4 separate regions of the Homo sapiens genome follow, and all the other regions are linked to region 4. Evidence: promoter capture Hi-C in 16 types of primary human blood cells and fetal thymus (Javierre and others, 2016). All regions are on one chromosome and are shown on one strand. The core of a region is centred on a gene start or on the middle of the fragment in contact, and the rest is flanking DNA. Distances in the headings are between cores, read along the strand shown.

What was found. The method cuts DNA at HindIII sites, captures the fragments that hold promoters and counts their contacts. A CHiCAGO score of 5 or more calls a contact.
Region 1: the fragment with the promoter of SIAE here is called in contact with the fragment with the promoter of EI24 in region 4 in 2 of 17 cell types (non-activated CD4 T cells and naive CD8 T cells); the score reaches 6.5 in non-activated CD4 T cells.
Region 2: a contact is called between a fragment that was not itself captured here and the fragment with the promoter of EI24 in region 4, in 2 of 17 cell types (naive CD8 T cells and total CD8 T cells). The highest score is 5.4, in naive CD8 T cells.
Region 3: a contact is called between a fragment that was not itself captured here and the fragment with the promoter of EI24 in region 4, in 2 of 17 cell types (activated CD4 T cells and total B cells). The highest score is 6.2, in activated CD4 T cells.

Annotation. Positions count from the first base shown.
Region 1 is chr11:124,672,307-124,675,006 of GRCh38, reverse strand. SIAE (sialic acid acetylesterase) reads left to right here and starts at 1,268. Exons shown (of 10, transcript NM_170601.5): 1 at 1,268-1,365. The coding sequence starts at 1,299. SPA17 (sperm autoantigenic protein 17) reads right to left here and starts at 1,103. Exons shown (of 5, transcript NM_017425.4): 1 at 1,055-1,103. RefSeq lists an enhancer at 993-1,172 and silencers at 1,082-1,240, 1,213-1,332. The HindIII fragment of the contact is 8,074 bases long and covers 1-2,700 here.
Region 2 is chr11:126,196,946-126,199,645 of GRCh38, reverse strand. No RefSeq gene overlaps it. Among named protein-coding and RNA genes, the nearest start is that of RPUSD4, 13 kb to the left of the region's middle. The HindIII fragment of the contact is 5,671 bases long and covers 1-2,700 here.
Region 3 is chr11:126,217,238-126,219,937 of GRCh38, reverse strand. All of the region lies in intron 1 of FAM118B (family with sequence similarity 118 member B), which reads right to left. Among named protein-coding and RNA genes, the nearest start is that of FAM118B, 6.8 kb to the right of the region's middle. The HindIII fragment of the contact is 1,119 bases long and covers 870-1,988 here.
Region 4 is chr11:125,568,099-125,570,798 of GRCh38, reverse strand. It overlaps EI24 (EI24 autophagy associated transmembrane protein), which reads right to left and starts at 1,322. Exons shown (of 11, transcript NM_004879.5): 1 at 1,226-1,322. It overlaps STT3A-AS1 (STT3A antisense RNA 1), which reads left to right. Exons shown (of 4, transcript NR_132372.1): 3 at 357-509; 4 at 2,681-2,691. RefSeq lists enhancers at 605-654, 1,157-1,658 and a silencer at 1,095-1,654. The HindIII fragment of the contact is 1,677 bases long and covers 638-2,314 here.

The DNA.
Region 1 (2,700 bases), core at 19-2,518, 900 kb after region 4:
AAAAACCCATAATTTTCAATATGACTTTTTCTCTCTTTACCCTTTATATGCTCAAAAGGTAAGGGTAATTTTTGCTATCACACAGGAATTTAGAGAGAATGATTGCTAAAAAGTTAAATTCATTGTCAATTGCTGAGAAGACCTTCTTTGAGGTCTATTTTTTTTTAAAGAGTAGAAATTAGTCCTGGTTCTAGAAATTAATTTGTTGAATGAAGAAGTTGCACAATCTTTCCCCTTGCTGCCACTTCTGAAGCATGACCCACAATGCTTCGAACACCTTCGTACTGTGGAATGGGGTTGTGCGTGCGTGTGTGTGAGGGAGGGATGGGATGGGATGGGGCTGTGTGTCATGATTTTGAAATCCCAGCCTCTAAAGTTTTAGAATTCTTATATTTTTCGGTTTCTTCTTGATCAGGTTGTCTCTTTCTGTCTTGAAATACAAGGGCTAGATTAAGGGTAGCTGCTAAGCAGCGGGCTGAGCTACTACTGAGTATGAAAAGAATCCTCCGGGACCTGGCCTGTTAATGTGAGAGTGTGCGTCAATGCGGAATAGAGGCGGAGGCCGTGGTAGGGGTCCAGGTTGGGAGAACTGGACGGTTTAATGAGGCTCAGACTATGGAGGGTTCTCGTTTCATCGCTTTTTTTTTCTTTGAGAGGGGGTCTCTGGCCTCGAACTCCTGGGCTCCAGCGATGATCCCGCCTCAGCCTCCCGAGCAATTGGGATTACAGGCGCGCGCCACCACGCCTGACTCCTCTCTTTTGCTTTTTCTGAGGGAGCAGTAGATGGGGGTATCGAACCATTCTAGAGTGGTGAAAAGAGCTGGCGAGATTCTGAACCAATGTGGGCAGAGGAGGGCGGGCGGAGGGGGCAGACGGGTCTAGTCGGGGGCGGGATGTTGAGGACCTGGGATTTCAGACTCGCGCAGAATGGGCTGCCTCGGCTCCCAAACGGCCCAGGGCTCCGAGGCTGTGTCTGGGATGCTGAGAGAATAAGAGAGACGAAGGGAAAAGGCTAGGTCTTGGTATCGGAGAGGAAGTGGGGAAGCGGCCTCACCTCCTTTCTCTCCGAGCTGGTGCCGCCGGTTCCGGTTGTTTTTCTAGTTGCTGGGTAACCGTTTTTTCTTTAAAAAAAAAAAAAAACTACGGCGGCCGAGAAGGGGCGAGTACAGCCCAGTCCTGAGGTCGCGGGAGGCTGCGAGGACTGCAAAAGGGTGGAGTCGGCCTCGCCCCCGCCCAGGCCCCGCCCCTGCCGGGAACCCACTTTCCCAGTCCTAGGCGGCGGTCAGATCCTTGCAAGCATGGTCGCGCCGGGGCTTGTACTCGGGCTGGTGCTGCCATTAATCCTGTGGGCCGACAGAAGTGCAGGTGAGGCGGCCCGGCTCGGCCGGACCCCTGCCCCTCAGCCTGTGCGGGCTCCGAGACCCCGTGTCCTCTGCGGGACACGGATCCGCGCCCCTTTCTCAAGGTCGACGAAGGAACCTAGCTAGGCTAGGGGCTCGCGTCTCCGACCGAGGCCCGGTCTGCAGGAGTCTGCTGGGTTGAACCCCGGCCTCTCCACTTTCTCCACCCCCCACTTACCATCCCTGACATGCAGCCTGTGAGCAGGGAGAAAGTGCGGCTTGTCTGAGTGGGGAGGCCCAAATGTGCCCAGAAAGAGGCCTTCGGGGTCCTGGAGTAACTGCAGGGGAGCTCGGAGGGAAGGAGGCGAAGCTAGTTAGGTAATATTTGGAAACAGGTGACTGAATCTTCCAAAACATTTCAGCGCTACCCCCTCAGTGGTGCCCTTGGGGAGGGTTTGCTTCAGGCGGGGTTCCTTAGGGGAATTAAATTTTACTCGTTTAAGTGGTTATCAGGGCTAAGAAATACAACCCCCTCACTAGCTCTGACTATTTAAGGCTCAGTTTTGATTTCTGGTACCGCTTACAGATATTGGTGGTGGGAAAATGTGAGTGGCATAGGGGAGGCTGGTGGCTCCCTTTGGCTGTTGCGCAGGTCAGATCTTGCCATTCGAATACCCTAGGCTGGACACTGGGTCACAGTATGGAGAAAGCAGAAGGTGCAATCTGTCTGATAATGCAAACTAAAGTGATAATGTTGGATTTCTTCCTTTCTGTTTCAAAACACTCAAAGAGTGGACCCCAGAGATCCCTGTTAAGAAATGATAGTTGGGGTAGGAGAACAGCGTGCAGAAAAATGACTCCTGCTCTACCTGAGAGCCGGAAAAGTACCTAGATTCAGACAAACTGCAGCCCATAAATGATTGTTCAGAGTCTAACAAAAGTGCAAAATGCTAGCACTCTGTATGCCATTTCCTGACTCTTATCTCCACTCAGTGACCTTTGAGATCCATCTTATGAGGTGGGGAAAAGATATTTTATTAGGTTTTCAGTTAAAGGCTGTTTATTTTAGTGTCAGTATTTTATCTCCTCCTTTGGGTCTTATTGTTACATCACCTTCATTAACATTGATCACATTTTTCATTCATTAGTACTCTACTTGGTTGCGTATCCTGACGTTTTTCCTTTAAGTCATTCTCCCTGTGCCCATGTTTACCATGTAATGCTTGAGATGTACAAAATTATATGTAACAATGACACAATAAAATGAACACCCATGAGAGCAGTACCCAACTTAAGAACTAGAACATTGCCAGTCTATTGAGCCTGCCATTGTGCTCCTCGCCAATGCATCCGGAGCTCC
Region 2 (2,700 bases), core at 89-2,588, 630 kb before region 4:
GTGTTTTCTTAGGCCTAAAGAAAGGATTAACATTTCTCTGATTCTTAGTGGGATCTGGACTGCCTGAGCAGCAGGTCTTGCTAGGTACAGTGGCTATCTTTTTTTTTTTTTTTTTTTTTTTTTTGAGACAGAATTTCACTCTTGTTGCCCAGGCTGGAGTGCAATGGCGTGATCTCCACTCCCCACAACCTCTGCCTCCCGAGTTTAAGCGATTCTCCTGCCTCAGCCTCCCGAGTAGCTGGGATTACAGGCATGTGCCACCATGCCCGGCTAATTTTGTATTTTTAGTAGAGATGGGGTTTCTCCATGTTGGTCAGGCTGGTCTCAAACTCACAACCTCAGGTGATCCACCTGCCTCAGCCTCCTAAAGTGCTGGGATTACAGGCATGAGCCGCCGTGCCTGGCCCAGTGGCTATCTTTAATTACTGACAATAATATAAGAGGAATTTTACCCCAGGTTAGTGTGGCCTGAGAAATGGGTTACACAGCAAAGGAGGTTGGAATGTGCCTAAAATGAACTGCATCTATTTTGAAATACTGATTAGAGCCAGCTAAAAGATATGATTTAGTGTTAAGTCATATACAGTAATTAGTATAAGAAAATGGGCTTCTTAAATTTCTATTTTTATCAAAGTTCTATGTGCACATGATTTAAAAAATCAAGAACTATTCTGCTCAAATGACTCTGGTTAAAAAAAGAATAAGAAAAAATCAAAATGAAAAATCAAGAACTAAAGGCTTGCCATGAAAAGCAGCAGCTCCTTGCCCACGTAGGGATTTTGTTTGCTGTGAGCTCTGGGAGGTGCTTGTGCTCAGCAGAGGGGGGAGGCCGGCTCTCCCAGTGCCCCTTCTGGTGGCAGCACTGGCTCTTCTGCTCCAGGAGGCAGCTTTTGGGTAGCTGGTTTTTTTCTGTGCTAGGCATGCCCAACCTAATAAGCCCACAGAGCACTTTCTCAATCCTCGTATCACACGTCTTTGCATTTGATAACCGAATTGCCCACTCTGAGCTCCTCACTCGCTTTGATTCCATGAACTCCTCCTGCATCTCCTTGTCTGACCTCCTTCCAGGCTCCTTGAAGGGCCCCAGCATGGTGCCCCCCAGAGCTCCATCTTGGCATCCTGCCCCTCTCCCAGAGGGAGAGCTGGGCCAACTTGGGAAGCCTCTACCTGTGTGCTGACGACTCGCTAGTCTGTCTCTGACCTTGATCTCCCCCTTGAGCTCCTTATCTTCACATCCATCTGCCTGTGATCGTCTCCCCTTGGGAGCTCCCTCTCCGGGCCTGTTGCTCCTGTCCTCTTACCTGCCTTAGTTTAGATGGCATCACCAGAGACCTGGGAATCACCCTTAACTCCTCCCTCGCACCAGTCCCCAAATCCAATTAGCCACTAATTCTTTGCCAGTTCCATCTAAAACCCTTCTCTTAAAATGCACTTCCCTCTTTAATTCTAATATCTCCTGAGCACCAATTTCACCGTCCCCACCCTTCAGCTATGATGGGATAGGTCTGGGAGGTGGAAGGGCATAGTGGGTTAGAAATAGGATCATAGGCAACCTGCTAGTTCCCACCAGAAACCAAACTCACAACGGGGTGTTGAGACCATCCCCAGGTTCCTGGGGATAGAGCAGTGTGGGAGGGGGTACCTGTTTTAAACAAGACAGGCAAATAGAGCAGCCTCCCACCATGTTTTCTAGGTCTGCTCTCCTTGGCTCTCTGGACTGCTTTTAGCCAGAGTGCCTGGTAGGATATACAAAAACATGGCCTCCTGCTTGTGCTTGTGCAAAGCATGCCATGTGGGTGCAGACAGCTTCTCCCAGTGCGGAGCAAAATCTGCTGGCTCAGGGCAATGTAATTCAAACACCAGCTACCCAGCGTTAGGCCAGATGTCACAAGTTAATGGCACATTCCACAGGACTTGCCTCACTTCAGACACCAGCTGCAAGCTCTGGGGTTTTCCAGCCACCTGTACTTCTGACCAACTAGCTATGAATTCAAGAGTGTTCACAAACCCCTCAGGTTTGATCATTCACTAGAATGACTCCCAGAACTCAGCAAAGCACTAGCTATGCTTACTATTATGGTTTTGCTGTAGCAATAAAATGATATGAATCAGGACCAGCTAAAAGAAGAGATGCATGGGCAAGGTCTGGGAGAGTCTCCAGCATGAAGCTACCGTGTCCTCTGCCCACCGTGTCACCCTCCCAACACATGGATGTGCATCACCAGCCAGGAATGTCACCCAAGCCCTGGTGTCCAGAGTTTTTATTGGGGTTTCATTATGTTGTCGTGGTTGAACAATTGGCTACATTGTTGAACTCGGTTCTGCTGGGTTCAAAGTGCCAACCCTCTAATCACATGGTCGGTCTTTTTGCATGGCCAGCCTGAAACTACCCATCCTGAAACTAAAGCCCCACCGTGAGTCCTCACATTTAATAGCGTAAACTATTAGGGCTCATCATGAATAACAAAAAATGTTAACATCACTTGGGAAATTCCAAGGATTTAGGTTCTCTCTCCCAGGAACCAAGGACGAAAGCAAGGCAAATTATTATAGAACTCTGAGTTTTCCTCTCCATCCCCCACTCCCTTAGGCGTCTCTTGATGTCCTCTCTTAGGGATCCCTTCATCTTGCTGTCCCCCAGCGAGTGACCAGCCTAGGTGGCTGTCTGCATAGATGCCCCTGTTGGTTGTGGCCTTAGGA
Region 3 (2,700 bases), core at 180-2,679, 650 kb before region 4:
AAAAATTCTTCCTTCAATGTCTTATTAAAATTAACTTAAAAAAAAAACTCAAGCAGCTCGAGCTGCTTTTTTTTTTTTTTTAAGTTAATTTTAATAAGTACAGTAGTGCATGTTTTCTGCAGTAGAAGAAAGAAAGAAGCAGTCTATTTCTAGTGGCTGGGGGTAGGGAGGTGCTGGGGAAGAGCAGGAACCTAGGAAGAGTCAGCAGAGGGTAGCCACGCCCCAGCCCCATGGACGAGACTCCTGAGGAATCCATAAAACTGCGAAGTACTAAGTTCTGGCAACAGATCTCAAACCTGCTCCTTAGCAAGAGAGCTAAAAAGAGAGTGTTTCTTATGTACTCTGTTAATTTGACTCTTAAGGCATATAAACAATAGGGAGACCCTGTCTCTACAAAAATAAAAAACTTAGCCAGATGTGGTGGCATATGCCTATGGTCCCAGCTACTTGGGAGGCTGAGGTGGGAGGATTGCTTGAACCCAGGAGGTCGAGGCTGCAGTGAGTCATGATCATGCCCACTCCAGTCTGGGCAACAGAGAGAGACTCTCAAAAAAAAAAAAAAAAAAAAAAAAAAAAAAAAAAAAAAAAGATAAACAAGAGCTGAAGGATAAGCTTCCAAAATAAACGAGGAAAACAAGAAATCTGTGCTTTTCCTTATGTGATATTCCTGTGCTGCATTCCATGACACTAAGAATATAAAACATGATAACTTCTGTCCTTACGTGTTTACTTCTTAATCTTTTTCAAAGTACGCTATTAAAATGGCAACAGAGGAGTTTTTCTTTTTTCAAGGTATAAAACCAAGAATGTGAGGTGCAGGAGATAAGCATTCAATTTTTCAATGAATTTTTGGAGATGGAAAGCAAGCTTTAAATGCAGATCTGAAAATACGGATTGGCATAAAGTCTATTTAACTAATGCGCAAATTCTCTTCCTCACCTCCTATTTTCATCTATTTTCTCCACCCCCAAATCCAGAGGTTTAAAGAAAAATGAACCGAAATCTGAAATGGGTCTGGAGTAAAATACATCAGCAGGAGCAATGAAGAACTGAAAATACAGATTATGTCAAAAGATGCATACTAAAAGGTTCTCCAAGCCTCCATCCTTGTCCCAGCAACCAATGCACTGTCAGCTAAAGAAATATTAGCAAACATATACATTTGTACAAACATACACACAAAATCCATATATACCAGCCACCCTATAGTAATGGCCACCACCCAACAAGACCCACGCTGGGAACTTAAAATAACAAAAAACAAAACAGAAATGAACAGTCAGAATCATGAGACATTCAAAGAAATCCCACAATAAAATAATTCATTTATTCCTTAAGTTATTAAGCATCTATTCATCGCCAGGCACTGTTTCAGAGGCTGGAATTATAGAGGTAAACAAAAAAAAACCCAAAATCCCTGCCCTCATAGAATGTTTATTTTAGTGGTGAGGGAAACAAGTAAATAAATATGTGGGATGCTAGATGGTGGGAAATGCTTCTGGAGAGAAACAAAGCAGGGAAGTGAGATGGGGGTCTGCACTTCTCAATCCAGTGCTCTCTTCACTGAGGTGACATTTAAGGAAAGACTTGTGGATTCATCCAAAGTGAGGTGTGGGAGCAAGTCGCTGGATATCTGAGGGAAGACACATCCAGACAGAGGCACAGGTGCAAAGGCCCACATCACCTGAAGGAAGTGGAGCCTGTGCAGAGAGGAAGAAAACTCAAATACTCCAGCGGGCCCTCTGAGCCCACCATATCCACATAACAAGAATGGATATTACAAAAAGGTATCAAAGAAAAATTAAAGATTGAGCAAAAAATCACAGAAATAGTACAAGAAAACATCCCGGAACTAGAGGACGTGAATTTCCAGAATCAAAACCGTCTGTGAGAAGCCAGCACAACAGCTGAGTAAAAGACCCATACCCTGGTGTTAATACACATCATAAAACTGCAGAACACCAGAGATAGAGAATATCCTCAAAGCTTCCAGAAGGGGAGAAAACAAACAAAATACGGTCACGTAAGAAGGATTTAAATCACCACATCTCTAGAGCAATTACAGATGCCTTCAACATTCTGAGAGAACCTTATTTCCAATCTAGAATTATATAACTGCCAAACTATCAAACAAGTGTGTGGGCAAAACCAGGTCATTCAAATACTTCTTAGAAATAACTGAAGTATATGCTTTTAAAAAATAAAGACATAAGCCCAGAAAGAGGAAGATACGGTTCCTGCACAGGAAAGGGCAGGTCCAGGAGGACCCCAGGCAGCAGTTCTTGAGAGCAACAGTAAAGGCAGGAGGAGGGGGCAGGGCTCCAATAAACAGGTGATACATTTGAGCTCACAGAAAATGTTACTGATAAGAATGTGACAAATACATTGGAGCATGTGGGAAAAAAATTAACAGTAGGTACATGAAAAACACAGGTGAAGGCCAACCTACACACCAGGAGGAACACACTGTAATAGATCATCCAGCTCAACAGTGAACAGTATTTGACAGAGGTGTAAGTACATAAAAGCTACCTGTTTTAGCAAAAAATTACAATAGAACTATATTAGGGGATAGAGGGCATGGAAAAATAGGAAAGTGGTGGGATGCAAGAGCTAAATACAAATCTATCACAACAAGAAATCAACAGGCCAAACATGAGGGGAAAACCAAGAAAGAATAACAAACCAACTATTTAGCAA
Region 4 (2,700 bases), core at 73-2,572:
TAACCTGCCACTGGCTCATCTATAAATTAAGGGTACTAAACTTCTTCATAGGTTTCTTGCATCTAATAGGGCACAACAGCATGAAAAAAACTTAAAATTCTATATAAACACAACCCCACCAAAGTGAGCCAGCTTGGAGGTTTAAGGAAGCCCATTACTTGGCCTGGATTTCTCACAGGGAACTGACAGGGAACCTGAAACATTCTGTCTCAGTCCACAACAGCTGTGTCATTTGATCCCTGGCCAGCTAACACCTGGTTTCTGCATGTACCAAGTGGCAGGACACCTCCTAAGAGTGACCTATGAAGGATAAATCACTTCACTTTTATACTTAGATCCTAACATCCTTCCTACAGGAATATTTGGTGAATTACCCAGTCTGACAAATAGCTGAGGCATGGGGAAAAATAACCTGCCACAATTTGAGAACACACACACAGACTGAATGACACAGGGGGAATCCTACAGCTGAGCTAGACAGATGAAGATGCATCTGGCTCATTTAACAGGTGAGAGAACCCAGTCTCAGAAGTTAAATGACTTGCCCAGACTGACAGCAAATGAATGGCAGCTACAGTGAACCTCAGAACCCGGTGTTCTAACGTTACCTCGGTCGAGACTTGTTTTTACTTAAGCTTTGCAATGAAGATTTTTGTTTTAACACGAGCATCCCATGGACAAATAACCTCTCAAACCTGGAAATACAAATGCCATTAAATTCCCAACAGTCATTAGAAGCTAATAAGCATCTGCTGAGACACACTTTTATTTCTAAGTCACTAAACCCAAGTCTCGGCAAACAGGAAGCTGTCGTAGCCCACTCCAGGTACAGGGAAGGTAAACATCCTCACTTCCCACGGGGCTCCACGGGCTGCCTCTGAGTCCACGGGTCCATTCAGGCCCATCTCCCCACAGCTCCTAGGCAATTCGGCAGAAAACTGGTCTCCCTAGGCACAACTGTGCACGAGGTACGGATCACGCGAGGTGCGGATCACGCACGCTCCGGGTCACACAGGGAGCTAAAGATAGCTGCGCCGCACCTGGGGCAGCCTCGCCCGGGGATGTGCCCGGCCCCGTCCCGCTCCCTCCGGCCCCTTCCCATAAGGGGTCCTCGCCGGTAGCCCCACCAACCCACGCTCGGGCCCTGCCTGCCCTCCCGGTCCCTGCCACTCAGAATGGGCGGCGCGGCGGCCCCGAGGCCTAGCTCGGCTGAGCCCGCACCTACCCACAGCTCCGCCGCCGCGGCTCCGGCCCTGCCCCTAGCCCACCGCAGGCCAGCTCCGCCGGGGCGCTTCCAGGGCCGGGGCCGCTGCGCCCGCACTGGGCATGCCCGGGCCGCACGGGGCCGCTGGGAAGTCGGGCGAGCGCGAAGAACCAGCCGGCACCACGAGGCGGGGCCCAGAGCCGAAGGGGTGGGCCGCGCGGAGCGACGGAGACTGGGAAATGTAGTCAGTCCGGGGTCCCGCCTCGCGCTGCGTGCGGGATCGTCCGGCTCCCAACTCCGCCTGGCGGCGGAGAGGACCCCTCACCCCTCCGCGTCGCCTCCTCCCCGTCGCCTCCTCGCCGATCCCGTTCTCACAGATCTCTCCTCCTGTTCTTTGCCCTCCCCCATTGACTCCACAACGCTGCTTGCGTTTCTAAAATCCTGTGAAATTAGTAACAGGATGCCTTTAATCCCAGCATTTTGGGAGGCCAAGGCAGGCAGATCACGAGGTCAGGAGTTCAAGACCAGCCTGGCCAACATAGCGAAACCCCATCTCTACTAAAATAACAAAAATTAGCCAGGTGTGGTGGTACCTGCCTGTGGTCCCAGCTACTCAGGAGGCTGAGGCAGGAGAATTACTTGAACTCAGGGGATGAAGGTTGCAGTGAGCCGAGATCACACCACTGCACTCCTGCCTGGGCGACTGAGCAAGACTCAGTCTCAAAATAATAATAATAATAATAAATTTAAAAAATGAAATAAAATAAGTGGCTGGGCACGGTGGCTCATGCGTGTAACCTCAGCACTTTGGGAAGCTGAGGCGGGCAGATCACTTGAGGCCACCCTGGCCAAGATGGTGAAATCCCGTCTCTACTAAAAATACAAAAAATTAGCTGGGCATGGTGGCACACACCTGTGGTCCCAGCTACTTGGTCGGCTAAGGAATGAGAATCACTTCAATTCAGGAGGCAGAGGTTGCGGTGAGCCGAGATCGCACTACTGCACTTCAGCCTGGGTGACACAGCTAGACTGTCTCGAAAAATAAAATAAAATAAAACAAAACAAAACAATATAAAATAGAATAGAATAAGGAATCCATCTACTAAAGCTTAGAAATCTTGTTACAAAGAGACCTAAGTGGTTTAATGACAAACTGATTATTGTGCTATTAATTATAATAATAGCTCTTCCTCCAAGCTCTATTCTTTCTCAAGAGTGTCAATTTAGAAAAGATTTTAGAAAGAATTTAGTAGGTATGAGTTTATTCTGGCTTACTTCATGGGAGGAAATCTTTTTTTTTTTTTTTTTTTGAGACTGAGTCTGTCTTTGTCTCCCAGGCTGGAGTGCAGTGGTGCGATCTCGGCTCACTGCAAGCTCCGCCCCCTGGGTTCACGCCATTCTCCTGCCTCAGCCTCCTGAGTAGCTGGGACTACAGGCACCTGCCACCAAGCATGGCTAATTTTTTTGTATTTTTAGTAGAGACGGGGTTTCACCGT